Linked DNA regions of Homo sapiens: regions 1, 2, 3, 5 and 6 are each linked to region 4. The links are contacts of gene promoters, found by promoter capture Hi-C in blood cells and fetal thymus (Javierre and others, 2016). All regions are on one chromosome and are shown on one strand. The core of a region is centred on a gene start or on the middle of the fragment in contact, and the rest is flanking DNA. Distances in the headings are between cores, read along the strand shown.

The links. Contacts are between HindIII fragments. The CHiCAGO score rates a contact against its expected background, and 5 or more counts as called.
Region 1: a fragment that was not itself captured here is called in contact with the fragment with the promoter of ADRM1 in region 4 in 1 of 17 cell types (total B cells); the score reaches 6.0 in total B cells.
Region 2: a contact is called between a fragment that was not itself captured here and the fragment with the promoter of ADRM1 in region 4, in 1 of 17 cell types (neutrophils). The highest score is 6.8, in neutrophils.
Region 3: a contact is called between a fragment that was not itself captured here and the fragment with the promoter of ADRM1 in region 4, in 1 of 17 cell types (neutrophils). The highest score is 7.9, in neutrophils.
Region 5: a contact is called between a fragment that was not itself captured here and the fragment with the promoter of ADRM1 in region 4, in 1 of 17 cell types (monocytes). The highest score is 5.5, in monocytes.
Region 6: a fragment that was not itself captured here is called in contact with the fragment with the promoter of ADRM1 in region 4 in 1 of 17 cell types (naive B cells); the score reaches 5.9 in naive B cells.

The regions. Positions count from the first base shown.
Region 1 is chr20:62,834,195-62,837,408 of GRCh38, reverse strand. COL9A3 (collagen type IX alpha 3 chain) reads right to left here. Exons shown (of 32, transcript NM_001853.4): 27 at 1,456-1,488; 28 at 1,076-1,222; 29 at 877-931; 30 at 144-326. Among named protein-coding and RNA genes, the nearest start is that of COL9A3, 19 kb to the right of the region's middle. RefSeq lists enhancers at 421-1,620, 3,144-3,214. The HindIII fragment of the contact is 341 bases long and covers 1,340-1,680 here.
Region 2 is chr20:62,914,224-62,917,203 of GRCh38, reverse strand. DIDO1 (death inducer-obliterator 1) reads left to right here. Exons shown (of 16, transcript NM_001193369.2): 2 at 2,798-2,980. Among named protein-coding and RNA genes, the nearest start is that of DIDO1, 11 kb to the left of the region's middle. The HindIII fragment of the contact is 3,417 bases long and covers 1-2,978 here.
Region 3 is chr20:62,942,110-62,945,052 of GRCh38, reverse strand. It overlaps GID8 (GID complex subunit 8 homolog), which reads right to left. Exons shown (of 5, transcript NM_017896.3): 3 at 1,870-2,066; 4 at 1,361-1,558; 5 at 1-314. The coding sequence ends at 141. Among named protein-coding and RNA genes, the nearest start is that of GID8, 5.4 kb to the right of the region's middle. The HindIII fragment of the contact is 240 bases long and covers 1,342-1,581 here.
Region 4 is chr20:62,301,479-62,304,638 of GRCh38, reverse strand. It overlaps ADRM1 (ADRM1 26S proteasome ubiquitin receptor), which reads right to left and starts at 1,642. Exons shown (of 10, transcript NM_007002.4): 1 at 1,590-1,642; 2 at 858-1,071; 3 at 62-178. The coding sequence starts at 1,070. RefSeq lists silencers at 1,533-1,992, 2,013-2,132. The HindIII fragment of the contact is 19,122 bases long and covers 1-3,160 here.
Region 5 is chr20:62,870,009-62,872,999 of GRCh38, reverse strand. The region is part of intron 1 of LOC105372717 (a long non-coding RNA gene); the gene reads right to left. It also overlaps the pseudogene ARF4P2. Among named protein-coding and RNA genes, the nearest start is that of TCFL5, 9.7 kb to the right of the region's middle. The HindIII fragment of the contact is 6,367 bases long and covers 1-2,991 here.
Region 6 is chr20:63,011,464-63,014,413 of GRCh38, reverse strand. No RefSeq gene overlaps it. Among named protein-coding and RNA genes, the nearest start is that of BHLHE23, 6.0 kb to the right of the region's middle. RefSeq lists an enhancer at 1,327-1,476. The HindIII fragment of the contact is 240 bases long and covers 1,250-1,489 here.

The DNA.
Region 1 (3,214 bases), core at 261-2,760, 530 kb before region 4:
TAGGCCCCAAAACATGAGAGGCCCCCACGTTCCAGGGGTTACCCCTGAGGGCGCATGGCAGGCACCAGAAGCAGCGCCTACTAACAAGTCAGTCTCAGGGATTTTTACAGCAGGGTGACCGTGTCATGGGGTCAAACACTCACCTCTGGGCCCGGGGTCTCCCAGCTCCCCAGTGGGACCGCGGTATCCAGGGGGTCCTCGAGCGCCAGGGTGACCAATGGAGCCTGGGGGTCCTGGGGGCCCAGGGGGGCCAGCTGGACCGGGCCGACCAATGGACCCGGGTGCCAAAGGCTTCCTTAGGTGCGCGGCTAACTGTGCAATTTGTTCTTTGGGAAAACAAGGGTGCAGGCGTTTACTCGAGAGAGGATCATCAGAAGTATTGTTACGTAAAGCATAAAATATCTACACGGTGCTGTCTTCCAGAAGCAAGTTTTCCTTCTGATTGATGGAAAATGGTTTAACTGCTTTGGGGTGATGAATGCTGGAGCTAGAAAGGACCCCCAACCCCTTGGAGCCTGAGAAGCCTGAGTGGGAAGGTGAAGGAAGTGCCCTTGGGGGTGTTTAGGGACCTGCCCTGCCAGCCACAGGGGCACACTCCGCTGTTCTTGTACCCATTGCATTCAGCAGGCTTTAGGGCGTCTGCTGCGTGCTGGGAATCTGGTTGAATCCGGGGCGGGAGCGTGGGCCATCCTCTAGCGCAGAGGACAGGCAGACGCCAAGGCGGACGTGGACCCCCAAGGGCTAACAGGCGGGGTGAGTGCTAGGGGCTCACTTTGGCTGGAAAGCAGTGGCACGAAGGCTTTCTGTGTAGCCCCAGGCACGGGACCCCCAGGCGGGGATGGGCCCCGCTGCAGCCGGTGCACGTGGCTGACTTACCGCTGATCATCCCCCCACACAGCTCCCTGATGCGCTGCTCGCTGGCCTCCTTCCCCTGGAATTCACCCCACACATTCGTCAGCATGGGGGCGGCAGCCTCGGTGAGGCATTCCCACCGTCACCCCGCAAAGTAACTTCCTTCCGGAAAAAACACGATCTCAACCCTGTGAAAGCTGGAAAAGCCGGAAAAGCGACGTACCGGAACTCCCGGCTTCCCCGTGATGCCAGGAACACCCGGGACGCCCTGCAGGCCCAGAGGACCGGGGGGCCCGGGGACACCCTGAACACCGCTGGTGCCGTTGGGACCCTGGGTGCCTTTGGGGCCCAGCTCCCCTCGACTGCCAGACTGCAGAGGAACAGAGGAAGGTGGGTCAGGGGCGAGCCCAGGAGCCCAGAGCCACCCCGACGTGCTCTTTCCCAGCCGGCACGGAGCCGTCTTGCCCAGCCTTGACCAGAGCAAGCTTTTTTACATCTCGGATCTGGGCAGTGCCCTGCAGGGCTGCCTGGTTGCCCAGAGGTGGGCAGGAAGCCAGCAGGCGCCCATGGATGGTGTCATCGGAACAGTCGCCGGGCACTCACCTCTCCTTTGGGTCCGACCAGGCCGCTGGGACCCTGTGAAGAGAAAAGTTGTGTGTTTGAACTAAGTGTATTGTTGGGTGGGTGGGAAGTAGCCAGTTGAGGATAAAATAAATCAAATCATCCACACACCTGCTATTAGACTACATCCAAATATTGACAGTGGTTCCTTCCGTTCTTCTATATACATTTTTTATATTTCTGTGATTGCACTGATTGATTGAAGCTTTTTAAAAACTTACTTTCCTGGGAAGAGTGACTTTGTTAGCTGCACGGTGCTGTCTCTTACACACGCTTACTTTGCTTCCATTCCTTTTTCTTACTAACACGCCTAATGCTGGGCTGAACCTCTCTGCCCTAAAACCCTGGAACCCCCTCCAGCTGGGTCCTCAGGAATGACTGGCCCCAGGTGCGTCAACACACAGTCAGCCGGGTTAATGTCTCCTCCAAAACACATGCTGCAATTGAACGGCCACTGCACTGCAATGCTATTAAGAGGTGATTAGGTTTGAGAGCTCGGCTCTCCGGAGTAAACTAACACCGTTGTCTCCGCAGTGGGTTCCTCATGAAAAGGATGGGTTGGGCCCCTTTCTCTCTCTGGCACCTCCTCTTGGCCCTTCTGCCTTCCACCATGGAATGACGCAGTGGGGAGGCCCTCGATGGATGCACCCCTCGGTCTTGGGCTTCCCAGCCTCCAGAACTAGGAGCCACATGGATCTCTTTCCCTTGTAAACTACCCAAGCTGCGGTGTTCTGTTACAGCTGCAGAATACAGACTGACACAGTCTAACCGCACAGCAGAGGGACCGACCGGGCCCAGACAGCATGCTCCGCGGAGGCCAGGAGGGTAGGGGGTCACCTCACACAGCCCGACCGTGCGAGTAGCTGAGAGCAAAGCCTTAGGTTTTCCGCCTGCAAGGGGCTCTGCCCCTCACCCCACCAGCAACAGTGGCCACGTAGGGCAGCTTCTGGGATTTCCAGGGTCCATTTGTCAGTGTTGTCTAAGAATTCACTAAATGGGCTGGGCGAGGTGGCTCACGCCTGTAATCCCAGCACTTTGGGAGGCCAAGGCGAGCGGATCACAAGGTCAGGAGTTTGAGACCAGCCCGGCCAACATGGTGAAACCCCATCTCTACTAAATACAAAAATTAGCCGGGTGTGATGGTGGGCACCTGTAGTCCCAGCTACTCGGGAGGCTGAGGCAGGAGAATCGCTTGAACGCAGGAGGCAGAGATTGCAGTGAGCTGAGATCACACCACCGCACTCCAGCCTGGGGACAGAGCAAGACTCCGTCTCAAAAAAAAATAAAAAAAGAATTCACTAAATGAAACACATACAACTGAGGTCTTTTGTCCCCAGGCATAAAAAGTTTACACTGGGCTGTGGGGGTCTGCCAGAGACTGGGGTCCCTGGGGCTAGGCTGTTTCTATTTCACCCAGACGCAAAGGAAAGACTTAATCATAGATGAAAACCCCCCTCGGGAAAGCCAGAAAGGCCGTCCTTCCCTCGGACTCACGACTGCTCCATTTGTTACCTCCAGAAGGAGAAATGTGCCTATCAAGGGACTCAAACAAGAACGTAATTTTATGCTTCACCTGAGTTTTAGGCCTGTGGAAGTGGAGTTTTCTTCAGTTAAAAACCAGCTGTGGGCCTGACACGGCGGCTCACGCCTGTAATCCCAGCACTTTGGGAGGCTGAGGCAGGTGGATCACCTGAGGTCAGGAGTTTGAGACCAGCCTGGCCGACATGGTGAAACCCCGTCT
Region 2 (2,980 bases), core at 21-2,520, 610 kb before region 4:
ATGCAAAAATTACCTGGGCATGGTGGCATGCACCTGTAGTCCCAGCTACTGGGGAGGGTGAGGTGGGAAGACCGCTTTGAGCCTGGCGGTGGTGTGGGTGGGGGAGGTGCTGAGGCTGCAGTGATCCTTGATTGCACCACTGCACTCCATCCTGGGCAACAGGAAAAAAAATGTTTGTTTTATGCTATCCGATGAGATGTGTGGACATTGAGAATCTGTCTGTTACTTGAACCCGTGTCATCCAGGTGAACAGCATGCACATGGGTCCAGAGTGCAAGGACGTGTTCAGAGTGAACACAGCAGTCAGTTTTCATGAAAGAAAGGGAGAAGTTCCTTGACAAAGGCTGCAAATTCTGTTTCAGCTAACTTTTATGAAACTGCTCCTTGGCGAGAGTTGGTGTAGTATCAGTGAACATCCAGTTATGTGAAGATGGTTACAATACTCCATTCTAAAGACCTATCTGTGTGAGGCAAGATTTTGATGACATGTTTTAGCTGAAACACTCTATGGGAACAGATTGAGGGCAGAAGTAGACATGAACATGGAGCTGTCTTCGGTTATGCCAGAAATTTGCAAAAATGTACAACAGGGCCACTCTTCCTGTTCATTTTTGTTTGTTTTAGAAATAACTTTCATTTAAAGATACTATTAATGTATTAATAGGTTTATTTTTAATACATACTTAGAATTTTGAAAATAGCAATACATTCCACATAAACAAAAGCTCTTTGGTGTTCTCAACTTGTAAAAGTGTCTTGAGACAAAAGGTTTGAGAGCCGCCATTCAAGCATTTGGAAGTCAGTGTGTGTCCTCTGCTTGAATCGCCGCTCATCAGCTGCTTCTAGTCAATAGAAAATGAAGCAGTTTTCAGCTGGGGAAAAAAATGTGCTTAGAAATGTGGAAATATTAAATTTGGTACATTCTGTTTTAACCTGTAGTTTGTTCACTTCCCAGCTTCAAGGATACCCACATTTTTCTTTCTGGGGAAAAGTTGTTACTGATACAATATGGTTGCAGTTTTATGAACACATTCCCCCTGTGATGGGCTGTGTAGTGTGTAGAATTACACACTAATTATACACACAAAAAGTTGTGTTAGAACAGGTTTTTTTGCTTGTGCCTTGATATACATATGTTTTTATTTTACAAGCTGACTGAAATGTTATAGTAAATTTTCTCTGTTGAAGACATTATGAAATCAGTTTTGTAAATATAAAGTGATCTGATCTTTTCCGAAGGTATATCCTTCATTGAATTCTACTTAACAGAAATAACTACATTTTTCTGATTACTCAGAACTCAAATCTAGTAGCGTGTTTATTCGCAGATTAACATAAATTGAATTTTTAAAAATCAGTTTTCGTTCCCGAGAACTTCTTAATTTCTTTGCTTTTATAAATGTTCAGTGTTGGCTGGGCATGGTGGCTCGTTCATGTACTCCCCAAAACTCTGGAGGCTGAGGCAGGAGGATTGCTTGAGGCCAGCAGTTCAAGACCAGCCTGGATAACATAGCAAAACCCTGTCTCTAAAAGAATTTTTTTCAAAAATTAGCTGGGCATAGTGGCACGCATCTGTAGTCCCAGTTGCTCATGAGGCTAAGCCAGGAGGATCACTTGAGCCCCGGAGTTTGAGACTGTAGTGAGCCATGATTGGGCCACTGCACTCCAGCCTGGGCAACAAAGCAAGATGCCAACTCTTTAAAAAGTAAAGTAAAATAAATTAAATGCTCAGTGTTGCAAAATATAAAAGTTTATTTCCAGTGTTTTCTGAGCAGTCGTTTCTGAATTCTTGAAGTAATTGTTTTGAGGATGATAGTTTTACCACATTGAAGAGATGGTGACTATGACGATGCCGTTTGGCTTATCAGAGGGAATGCCTGTCTTATTTTTATTTTTTGTAGAGACGGGGTGTCTACATGGTGACACGTTGCCTGGGCTGGTGTTGAACTCCTGGGCTCAAGCAGTCCTCCCAAGCAGCTGGGATCACAGATGCGAAACACTATGCCCAGTTGTCACTGTCCCTTTAAAAGGAGGGGAGTTGGAATGTTTGTCCCTTTGTTCTGAGGTTGCCAGGGAGACCACAGAGGGAAGGCAGTTGGTCTTGAGGCTGAGGAAGAGGTGAGAGCTGGGGCTCAGTTTGGAAGTGTCGGCTTTGGGGCAAGGACCTAGCTAGAAACTCGGCACCTGGAACCTTTGAGTGTTGTGATGTGACTGGTTGAGAGAGGATACAAGAGAATTGTTTCTTAAACACACGTGGTGAACTGTATCGTGTTGATTTTAGTACGTCACAAACATTAGTATTCTAAAATTTTTCTTGTTTTTAATTAAAATAATTCAGATACATTATTAAGAATTTTCAATTATTACATTCTTATATAATTTCGATGTTCAGCCTTTTCACTTTTTGTTCTTGTTCCTCTGTTTTGTGGTGGATTTTATTGAGTGGGGTCCATCTCGGACATAGGCTCCAAATGGAAAAGAAGCTGATGCTTGGCGACTCCTCTCTGGCCCTGGTCTGGCTGGGCCTCTGCCTGCCTCCCTGGGGCAAGCCTGGGACTCCACTCCTTCCTGCGCTGCCCCGGCCCCTTTCTCTTGGGGGTTGGTAGCATCTGCTGTCCTGGGTAGAGGTCCTTAAGGACACTGCTTGCGTGCTGGTTTTCAACCCCCAAGCTGTCTTTGTGGGTCACACAGTATCACTCAAATAATAGGTTACTTGAGAAGTTCGGTACTCCCTTTTAATTGTTGTCGATACGTAGTTTACTTAAGATATGTAAAATATTTTCTTATTTTCTTTTAGGAGCTTACTCCACGGGAACAGCCTCTAGATAATCTGAGTTGTTGAAAATACGAAGCCTGTTACTCGTGAACAGTGGCTGACAACAGTGTTGTTGTGAGCCTGGCTGTCTGCTTGGACCCAGAGGTTTCGTCTGCCAGGGTTTTTGGTTGTATTTAGGATTTCAGGGAAAAGTGTCCAAGCTTT
Region 3 (2,943 bases), core at 212-2,711, 640 kb before region 4:
TAAAAAGATGCCAGGTCAAAAAAAAGTACAAGGGAGAAAAAGAGTTCTCTACTGCAGTAAGAATCTTGCAGTCGCAGGCTGATCTGAGGCAAGTCCCACGACGCAGGGCTGGTGTTGGATCCACCACGCAAGCGCAGGCGCTACTTGGGCTCCTCAATCACACCCTTGCTGAGGTCTGTCATTTTGGGATATTTTACTTTCTTCTGGTCCAGCTCGTTCTGAGCCCAAAGTAGTAGTTTCAGTAATTTTGCCAGTTTGGGTGTTGACTCGCGATTTTCATAATCTAGCACAGCTTGGTTAACTTCACTCCACACCTAGAATATAAATACATCTGATAAAAACCACCATACACGCAGAGCACCAGCAGAGTCTATTAAAAAGAGGCAGTTTAAACAAACATTAAGCTCTTAACTGCGAGACACTCTCAGGACATGAAATACATAGTCCTTGCCTGGGGAAGCTCACAGTCTGGTTGTTAAACGTCACATGCAACCTCGATGGCAGTTAAGTGCCATGAGCAAGCCTTGAACAAAGTGCTGAGGGGACTGGGAGAGAGGTAAGACCAGCGTAGCAGGACATACCAGCACCCTCCTCACAAGCCTCAAGAAAACATCTCAAGTGGACTCTAGGACAGGCCATCCTTCCAAGACAGCGTAGGGAGGACAGAGCCCCCGGGAGAGGACCCGGGGGAAGAGGGACCTGGGTCTGGGAAGGCGAGGAGCTGTCATGTTCTGCCAGACAAAAACATAGCAGCGAGGAGAGAAAAGTTTCAGAAGACAGGATTTTAAATGAGAAATACTTGGGACATAAACAGAAAGAAGGTTCAGATAAATATAAGACACCAGCAAAGGGTGTGAATACTGTGTAACGATCACCAAGTCCGTTGTCCCTAGTTTGACAAGATAAAAGATTAAAAGCCAGAGAGAGGCTGAGCATGATGGCTCACACCTGTAATCCCAGTACTTTGGGAGACTGGATCACCTGAGGTCAGGGGTTCAAGACCAGCCTGGCCAATATGGTGAAACCCCATCTCCACTAAAAATACAAAACTTAGCTGGGCGTGGTGGCACACTCCTGTAGTCCCAGCTACTTGGGAGGCAGAGGCAGGAGAATCGCTTGAACACAGGAGGCGGGGGTTGCAGTGAGCAGAGATCTCGTCACTGCACTCCAGCCTGGGCGACAGAACAAGACTTCACCTCCAAAAAAAAAAAAAAAAGCCATGAAGGAACCACTTAGCATCCCAGGCACAGAAGCCACCTGTCTCTCAGTCCACACAGCAAAGCCACACACTTGGCGTTGTCACGAAGCCCCCTCAGAGCACATGGGGAATGGAAGAAAGCTTCCCTCTGGCAGGCCCCACCTTCTGCCTCTGCATGGTGTGGAGGAGGTCTCCGAAGGGCGACTCCTCGGGACTGTCAAAGGCCAGCAGTGCCAGGGTACGCTCCATCTCTGTGAGGCACTCTCGGCTCTCCTCGCCCTGCTCCGCCAGCTGAGTCTGTGCAAACTCCAGCGCCGCCTCTGTCTCCCGCTGGCGGATCAGCTCGATCAAATGCTGTTGCTGGAGGCAGAGACAGACAAGCTTGACCCCCACACACCCAGGCCAGGGACTTAGGGCAGGTGGTACCAGGTCCCAATCAAAAGTACATCACAGAGGGAAGACTTTTCTTGCATCTCTGAGTTATCAAATTTGCATTTTTAAAACAAAAAACCGCTTCTGAACTACATAAAAGAGCAAACTCAAACCTCTCCCCCTCACATGCATTGAAATAACATTATTAAAGCAAATTAGCCTAGTTATTTCTCAATCATTGCAAATAACTTTAACTTATCAAGTATTCACAAACCAGACTACTCTCTCCTGAAACATACCTGCAAATGGAAGTAAAGATACCGGTTTGTGTCCAAGAGCTCTGGGTGGAGGCTGTTGATCAAGGCGATGGCCTCCTGAATCTGACCTTTCAGTATCATCTCCCGGATCTTGATTCGTTCATCAAGTGTTTCCAGATCCACACTAGGTTCGATTCCAGATTCCATTCGAAACTTCTCCGCTGCTTCCTTAAAGCCCTCTGAATAGAAAAACCATCTTCACTGCTAGGAAAGTTAGCAAGGAATTAAGGCAAAGACTTTGTATCTCCAGAAACTCCAATTGCCTCAATTAATAACCTCTGATGTGAACCACACTTTCTCAGGAACTCGGTATTAATATCTTTATAATTTACAAGTTATGCTCTCAAAATACATATAGAAAATGAGAAGAGTATACTTCATTCCTTGTTATCCCATCCAAAAACTCTAACCCATTAGCCAAAGAGGTCAGAATGGCTGCTGGCCCAGTGTGTTGGTGTGGGCTCCTTTGAGAGGACAGATAATAGGTCCAGACGCCAGCAGCCGCAGCTCTGGTGCCAGGTTAGGCAAGTCACACTGGCTCAGCCTCCACAGCACAGGGGCCCTCCATGGTCAGCTATACCTGCAGTGGCCTGTTGACTCCCACCTCTTAAGAGTGTCTACAATTTTTCAAAGCCAGCATGTGTGCCCCTTCCCCTGCCCCTGACATAATTATAGGCCTAAATTTCCTCTTCACCTTCCAAAAATATTTTTTTTGAGATGGGGTCCCACTCACTCTCCCAGGCTGGAGTGCAGTGGCACAATCTTGGCTCACTGCAACCTCCGCCTTCCGGGCTTAAGTGATCCTCCCACCTCAGCCTCCCAAGTAGCTGGGACTACAGGCACAAGCCACCACATCCAGCTAATTAACATTTTTTTTTTGTAGAGACAAGGTCTCACTATGTTGCCCAGGCTGGTCTGGAATTCCTAGGCGCGAACAATCTTCCTCTGTCTCTCAAAGTGCTGGGACTATAAGCATGAGCCACCATGCTTGGCCCAAAAAAGTTTCACAGAGATTAATTTGGGAGAAGGAACTGGGGACTAACAGGAGGGAGATTT
Region 4 (3,160 bases), core at 393-2,892:
GCAAGTTCCTAACCGAATCGCAGGGCAACAAAAAGGCACAACCCCAAGGCCTGCCCCATACCTGCATCCAGAAGAAAAGCCGCTTGGACCCTGCCTTGAACTTCAGCACGTAGACCCTCCCGCTGGGGCACTGCGGCACCCGCTTGAACTCACAGTCGTCAGGGAAGATGATCAAGTCCTGGCAAGCCAGGGGAAGAGAGAGTCAGTGGCGCAGATGGCATCACTGTGCCCAGTCTCAGGAGAGCGTACTGAGCCCTGGGTCTAACCGGGTGGGGTGCGCAAGGGGCAGCTAAGCCGCCAGACCCCTCGCTGGCAGGGTCTCCACAAGGCAGAGAAGCCAGGGTCAGAGACAGCCCATGAAAGGCAAGGCCGGGGGAGAGAGCAGGGAAAGGGGCCTTTCAGATGGCAACGGGGTTTCTGAGACGTGCTGGAAACAACATTCCCAGAGTAGTTAAAAAGTCAACGCTGAACTGCTCTCAAATGTAACAAAGAACAACTAAGAGTTTGAAAAACAAAGAAGACTGAGTGAAGCCGCCAGGCACAGAGCTCCAGGCTCTCCAGGGCCACACCTCCAACCCCAGGCACCTCACACGGACAGTTCAAGGCCAGGCACAGAGCTCCGGGCTCTCCAGGGCCACACCTCCAACCCAGGCACCTCACACGGACAGTTCAAGATACACAGTGGCCGAGATGCCCCTGTCACCGCGGAAACCAGGACGACCCATCAGCAGGGCAGTCGATGACGGCCCCACGAGCGGTCCCCAGATGCGGCCAAGCCCCCACCGCGAACTCCAAAGCGAGGACTCCGAGGGCCCGAGAAGTCGCCTGTCCTGCTGCTGCGGCTCAGGGACACTCACGTCTTCCACGTTCCCGGACGTCCTGTCCTTCCAGCAGAAGTGAATAAGCGAGTCGTCCGTCTGCTGAATGTACACCAGCCCTTTCCGCTTATCCGGAGTCACGGTGGTCCCCTTCAGGGACATCTTTCCCGCCCGAAACTCCACCAAGTACTTGTTGGAGGCGCCCCGAGAGCCTGGCACCAGGCTTGGAAAGAGCGCGCCTGAGGTCGTCATCCTGAAAGCGCGGAGAGGACGCTGAGACGCGGCGGTCACTGTCGCCTGCGGTCCGGCAAGCTCCCGCCCCCTGGGGTGTTTGCGAGCAGGGGGCCTGCGCCCAGAGCTGCCTAAGGCAGACTCAGACACGCCGGGCTGCCTTTCCGCGTTTGCCCCGCTCACGACGATCGCACCGCCCGCACTCGGCGCTGGGCCGGGGCAGCCCCGCCAAGCCTAGTGGGGCCGGCCCTAGGCTTGACGCCGTCTCCGCGGGGCACCAGCCTCGACGCGCCACCCCGGCGACCCGCTCCGCGGGGCAGACCCGCCCGAGCTCCCGCCGAGCCCCACGTTCAGAGCCGCAGGCGGAACCGGGGCGGCGCCCGAGACCCCAGAACCCCCGCCCGGCCCGGCCCCCGCAGGCCCCACCCGCCGCGCCGGCCACCTTCTCGTCTTGGCTGCCCCCGCCCCATCCTTGGTCCAGCAGCCCCTGCCCCCGCCTCCGGTCGCCCCCGGCCGCCCCAGGCCCGGCGACTCCCGCACCTGCCTCGCGCCCACACTCGTTCGAGAGGCGCCGTCCGGGCTCGCTCTTCCTCCTCGGCGCCTGCCGGGCCCCGCCGGAAACCCGCGTTCGGCCCGCCCCGCCTGCCGCTCTCGCCGCCGATTGAGCCCCGTAAGCCGCGCAGCCGGCTCTAACCTGCCAACGATTGGCGAGGGCGACCGTCCATCGCACTCGCTCCTCCCCGGTCCGCCCCCGCGCCGGCGGCTCTTTTCCGGCGGAAGCGCGGGCCGCAGGGCGCTTGGACCAGAGCGGCCCCTATTGTTGCTGTGTCATAGGGGAGCGGCGGCGGCCCCTAGAGGCGGCGCCAGGGACCACAGGCGGGTTTCAGAGGGGCGCTGGGGAACTGCTCAGGTGGGGCCGAGCCCACCCCTCGGCGTCGCCCGCCCGGGCGGGCAGAGCTGTCACTCGTGTGGCTGAGCCAGGGGTTAGGCGGAGGCCGAGGAGTGCGGTCCGGCTGTGGGCGGCGGGCACCAGGGCTACGCATAGAAGTGACCATGGGTTCAGCGCTTTGGGGACCCAGGCGGGAGCTGGAGTCCACGCGTCCGGGAGAGCAGGGGTCCGGGAGGGTAGAGCGAGGGTGAGAACCGTGATATGGTCTCAGCTGTATACATCTAGTCCCGCAGGGGTCCGGGAGGGCAGGGGTCAGGAAGGGGTGGGTCCGGGAGGAGAGGGGTCCCGAGAGGGGAGGGGCTCCTGGAGGGGAGGGATCTGGGAGGGGTGAGTCCGGGAGGGGAGGGGTTCCCGGAGGGGAGGGGGCCCGGGAGGGGAGAGGGTCCCGGAGGGGAGGGATCTGGGAGGGGTGAGTCCGGGAGGGAGGAGTCAGGGAAGGCCTGAGTCCCAGACGGGTAGGGTCCTGGAAGGGAGGGGTCCTGGAGGGCAGGGGCTCACCCTCTGGACGCCTGGATGGGAAAGGCCACAGGGTAAAAAGGCGGCAGTCGCCCGCCAGTGTTGTGTAACTTTGAGTCACTTTGACACAAACTAAAGCGAAGACAACAGATAGTGTTTGTGGCGCCCCAGCCGGCTGCTGAAGGGACACGTTCTTTGGGATTTGCCTACAGCGACGCCAGGCGGGGGCTCTTAGAGGGCTCAGGCGCGGTGGCTCACGCCTGTAAACCCAGAACTTTGGGAGGCCGAGGCGGGCGGATTACTTGAGGCCAGGAGTTCAAGACCAGCCTGGGCAACATGGTGAATGAAACCCCGACTCTACTAAAAATGCAAAAATTAGCCAGGTATGCTGGCACATGCCTGTAATTCCATCTACTCAGGAGGCTGATGCACGAGAATCGCCTGAACCCGGGAGGTGGAGGTTGCAGTGAGCCGAGATTGCACCACTGCACTCCAGCCTGGGCGACAGAGGAAGACTCCTTCTCAAAAAAAAAAAATAATAATAATAATAGTAATAAAATAGAGAGGTCAGGCGCTTCGTGAGAACCCTGAGGTGCAGTGGCCTCTGCACCCCAGTTAAGCAAGACTAGATGTTTGCAGCTGAGACTGTGCCAGGGTCCTCAGGTTCTCCTTTGCCCATCGCTCACTTCCTTCTTTCCTTCAGATA
Region 5 (2,991 bases), core at 20-2,519, 570 kb before region 4:
ATTGTGTATAAACTGAAGTTAGGGGAGGTACTCACCACAGTTCCTGCCATTGGTTTTAACATGGAAAGAGTAGAATATAAGAACACTTGTTTTGGGCCAGGCACGGTAGCTCATGCCTATAATCCCAGCACTTTGGGAGGCCGAGGCAGGCAGATCACAAGGTCAGGAGTTCAAGACCAGCCTGGCCAATATGGTGGAACCCTGTCTCTACTAAATATACAAAAATTAGCCAGGCATAGTGGTGGGCTCCTGTAATCCCAGCTACTCGGGAGGCCGAGGCAGGAGAATTGCTTGAACCCGGGAGGTGGAAGTTGTAGTGAGCTGAGATTGCGCCATTGCACTCCAGCCTGGATGACAGAGCGAGACTCTGACTCAAAAAGAGAACACTTGTTTCATGGTGTGGGATGTTCATGGTCAAGATGTAATTAGGCTTCTCTGGAAGCATTACTTCCAGAATACCCAGGGTTTTCTTTTGCTGGTAGATAGCAACGATCATGAAAGAATTCGGGAAGTGGCGGACGCGCTGCAGAAAAGGCTTCTGGCCGGTGAGTGTGGAGACGCAGCGCCACTGCTCTCTGCAAACAAACAGGGTTTGCCCAGCGCTCGGGCCATCAGTGTGACGACAGATGAGCCAGCCAGCTCTTCAGTCTCTTCCTAACAGGACATGGTATGTTCAAGCCACTTGTGCAACACGGAGCTGGTGTAGATGAGGGACTTGACTGGCTGTCAAATGAGTTTTCAAAACGTTAAATGAAACTAGACATCTAACCAAAGACATGTTTGATAAAATTGGTCTAGACTTGCTACAGCAAAATTTGTTTGTATCTTGGTTAAGAAACAGCATCTGGGACTGGCTTGGGCAGAATAATAAACTTATTTTGTTGCCAATTATTGTTTGCCAAATATAATGTTGTTATTTAGCAATGTGCTTGGTTTTAAAGAAATTCTTCTTGGGAAAAAGGTGTCCTCATTTACTTCCCATGAGCCTAAAGCCTGGACATAGTTATTGTAAAACCTTTAAATAAATCCACCTTGGAAGTTAAGATACATAAAAATAAATAAGGTGGGGCGTGGTGGCTCACGCCTGTGGGAGCACTGTCTGTGAGGAGGTGAATCCCTTGAGCTTGTTGGAGACAAGGCTGGGCAACATGGTGAACCTTGCCTCTATTTAAAAAAAAAAAAAAAAAAAGGCCGTGCACGGTGGCTCATGCCTGTAATCCCAGCATTTTGGGAGGCCGAGGCGGGGGGATCATGAGGTCAGGAGATCGAGACCATCCTGGCTCACATGGTGAAACCCCAAACCCCGTCTCTACTAAAAAAATTAGCTGGGCATGGTGGCACGTGCCTGTAATCCCAGCTACTCGGGAGGCTGAGGCAGAAGAATCGCTTGAACCCAGGAGGCGGACGTTGCAGTGAACCAACATCGTGCCACCGTACTCCAGCCTGGGTGACAGAGACTCCATCTAAAAAGAAAAAAAAAGAAAAAAAAAATTCGGCTGGGCACGGTGATTCACACCTGTAATCCCAGCACTTTGGGAGGCCGAGGCAGGCAGATCACTTGAGGTCAGGAGCTCGAGACCAGCCTGGCCAACATGGTGAAACCCTGTCTCTACCAGAAAAATACAAAAAATAGCCAGGCATCGTGGCATGTGCCTGTAATCCCAGCTGCTTGGGTGGCTGAGGTAGGAGAATCGTTTGAACCCAGGAGGCAGAGGTGGCAGTGAGCCGAGATCGCACCACTGCACTCCAGCCTGGGTGACAGAGCAAGACTCCGCCTCAAAAACAAACAAATAAATAAATAAATAAATAAATAAAATAAAGCACTGACTCACCATTTTCTTTTCCCAGATTATCCAGAGCACTTGGGCAAAAGCCTCCACCCCATTTTTACTAGAATGTTCAATGGCAGCCTTGGTTCCAGAGGCACTTGGTTGAATTTTGCCCATTGATGCTCATTTGCATGAATTATCAGCGCCTCTTTCCCGTGAGAAACGGTTACCAATGCTTTTAAATCAAAGGCAATCAAAGATCCAGCTCCAGAAAACCCAGAACCAGCTTTGATCACTCCACATCACGGAACAGAAAAATCAATTGGCCCAGGAGTCCAAGAAGCTACAGGAGGATGAGAGGAAGGGGAGCAGTTGCCGGCAGGCCTGGTGACCCTGCCCTGCTCAACCTTCCAAGAATTTGAGAGAGAAAGAAAGAAAAAAAACCCTGCTTGCTGCGGTCTGAGTTTGTATCCCTCCAAGATTCATACTGAAACCTAATCTGCACTGTGGTGGCATTAAGAAGAGGGGTCTTTAAAACAATGGCCGGGTGCGGTGGCTCACGCCTGTAATCCCAGCACTTTGGGAGGCCGAGGCGGGCGGGTCACCTGAGGTCAGGAGTTCAAGACCAGCCTGACCAACATGGTGAAACCCTGTCTCTACTGAAAATACAAAACTATTAGCCAGGCGTGGTGGCACGTGCCTGTAATCCCAGCTACTCAGGAGGCTGAGGCAGAAGAATTGCTTGAACCCGGGAGGCAGACGTTGCAGTGAACCGAGATCATGCCATTGCACCCCAGCCTGGGCAATAAATCGAGACTCCATCTCAAAAAAATAAATAAATAAAAAATAAGAAGAGGGGCCTTTAGGAGGTGACTAGGTCATGACGGGAGAGCCATCATGAATGGGATTAGTGCCCTTTTACAAGAGGCCTGGGGGAGCTGATTTTCTCTCTCTGCCACATGAGGATGTGGCAGGAAGGCAGCATCTGAGCGGAACAGGCCCTCATCAGCCATCACATATGCTGGTGCCTTGATCTGGGACTTTCCAGCTTCCAGAACTAGGAGCAATACATTTTTGTTGTTTATAAGTGACCCAGTCTAAGGTGTCTTGTTATGACAGCACAAATGGACTAAGACACTGCTGGGTTTTTATTGGAACTGCATACATCAGTTTTGGGAATAACAGACATCTTAACACTATCGAACCTTCCAATCCATGAACA
Region 6 (2,950 bases), core at 120-2,619, 710 kb before region 4:
CTGAAATAGTGATGATTTTACAAGGGGGAGGAAGGTCTATTGCATGAACTCTAAACTGGTCACCGCAGAATCAATGTTGTTCAAGACTGAAAACAACCATCAGACTTCCAGTTTCTGGTTATTAGGGACTAGTTAATCTGGACCCATCACTTTTCTGATGGTGACTACAAAAGCTGAGCAAAATGTTAAAAATATTTGCTTGGAATGCAAACAAACAAAATCCCAGAAAGACAAAGATCCAGAGTGAAAAAAGCCTTCGGGACGCTCACTTTTCCCCCAAAGCATTTGCTGCTTCAGATAGCTCACAGCCCACTGAGGAGCCAGACAGCGAGAGATTCAGCCCACCTGAGAGTGGGGAGTTGGCGAACATCCCCCCGACCCCCACCATTTTGAGTTGGGACAACAAATAACCGCACCCTAGACATAGGGGTGGATAGAAGGAGACCGGCTCTTGCAGCAACTCAGGGCCTTTTGCACCACTGCCAGGGTAGGAAAACCTAAACTGTAATCATCTTGAAATGATTTCAATCCCTGAAACTAGAGTAAGATGATCCAGGACCCCTAGTGCCCCCATGTCTCGCAGATGCAAACATAAACCCTCTCTGGAGGAAAATAAAATAGACCTCAAATGATTTCTACAAAATAATTTTACAAATACAATGTTCAGTCCACAATAAAAATTCTAGACAATTGAAAAAACAAATCAGCAAGAATGAAAGCAGCAGAGACCATAGGCAGAAGATCTACCAGTCCAGACACTGGAGTCGCGAGACAGAGACTGGAACAAAACTGTGCTTACAGCATTTGCAGAAATAGAGGTGGAATTTAGAATTTCAGCAAAAAAAAAAAAAAAAACCTAGAAAAACCAAATGAAAATTCTAGCACTGAAAAATAAAATCACTTAAATTATAAACTTAGTGGCTTTAATAGCAAATTCAGCTGAAGAGAGAATTAGTGAAGTGGAAAATAGGTCAGTAGAAAATATTCAGAATGAAGTATGGATAATACAAATGGAAAATACAGGTGACAGGTTAAGATACACAAAGGATTCAGGAAGAAGGACCAATATATTTGTAACTGGATCCCAGAGAGGAGATGAGAGAACATGAGGTTGAAGCAATACTCCAGAGTTAATAGCCAGGAAATTTCTAAAAGTAATCAAAATCATCAAGTCACAAATTCAAGAACCCCACAAACCCAAAAAGGATAAATGAAATGAATCAATTTCTAGTCCACTGTGTGAGAAGCTTGGAAACAATCAATCTTTTCACAAGAACAAAACGTGAGCAAACTGAAAGTCAATAATATTTCTTATATTCAACAGATGATGAGGTCACAGGGCAAACCACTGCCCAAAAAAGTTGTAGAGACGACAGACAGATGCAGAGAATCCCAATTCTGCAGAGCAGACACCTCCCTGGGAACCACTGCCAGGTTGGGAAAACCTAAACTGTCACTGGCAGATTGCTGGAGGCTGTGTGGCCAAGCTTGACAGTTAAAAACTCCAGGGCCCAGTCTTAGGGTGGAGGCCACACTTCTGTGAGTTTTACCTGCACAAACTCTACCAGATCCCCCAGGTAAATACCAGAGAAAAATCCCCTTGTGCTTTGGACAAGGGGAGGGGAGAAGTAGCACTTTCGAAATATGCCAGAGCATTCTGTTCTTCCTCTGCCCTCAAGAGAAACTATTTTTAACGTACCAGAGTTTAATCAGAGTCTAACCAACCTGGAGGAAGGGAAGTATCAACTCCAGCTCCCTCCAGTCTTTTATGTTGGGAAGGGAAACACACAGCCCCATTCTCTATCCCTCTTGTCTCATTTAAGAAGGAAAAACAGGATGGGCATGGTGGTTCACACCTGTAATCCCAGCACTTTGGAAGGCTGAGGCGGGTGGATCATCTGAGGTCAGGAGTTCAAGACCAGCCTGACCAACATGGAGAAACCCCGTCTCTACTAAAAATACAAAATTAGCTAGGCATGGTGGTGTGCGCCTGTAATCCCAGCTACTCAAGAGGCTGAGGCAGGAGAATCACTTGAACCCAGAAGGTGGAGGTTGCAGTGAGCCAAGATCATGCCACTGCACTCCAGCCTGGGCTACAGAGAAAGACTCCGTCTCAAAAAAAAACAAAAAAAAAACAAAAAAATGTCCAACTGAAGAAAGTGTTGAGTGAGCTTGTCATGCATTCCTACACAAAGAGTACAACCGCAATATATTCTACAATAGCAAAGCAAAATAAATAAAATCATTCCAAGTAAACTAGCTAAACAGAAAGGCTTTCCAAGAACTGGGCAGCTGTTGGAACCAAGCCAATAGAGGACTGACTGACAGCTCATCAATGGCAGAGACGTGAGCTCTAAAGCTCTCATAGCCTGGGTAATGGTCTGGAACGTAAAATCCCCACAGACTTAGGCTGGCCAGTTGACTATGCCAGGGCAACCCAGAGGTGGAGGAAAGTGGCAATTCTCCACATACCCAACCGTTTATGTGATTATGTAGACAGGCTAAAGTCTGTGCCTACTCAGTAAATAAATCACTCTCTGCATGATTCCAACTTGTGCCTAAAAGTAGAATGCCAATCCAGGTATTTATGCCCCCCATCCCTCTCATTTCTTAGGAACAGGAATCAGAGGTCACTGACTGGCTCACGGGAATAAACGGGATCAGTCTCTTGTGTTCCGTTGGCCTGTGGGGCTTTATAAGAGACAGGTTTAATTTGAGATAAGTGGACCCAGCTGTTTATTCCCAGAAGTTTAACTGTAGTTGGGGTACTAAGGAGAACTTGATAGAGTCCCCTCCACTTGGGGGGAAAGTTGATCTGCTGAGGATCCTTCCTTCCAAGTTTGCAATAGGACCCAGTCTCCCAGCTGGGTTGGAACCAGATTGTCTTCCTCAGTGGGGGAAGGGAGTCTCTGATTTCCATAGTCAAGGAGTGCGTTTTGCACTTGTCCTA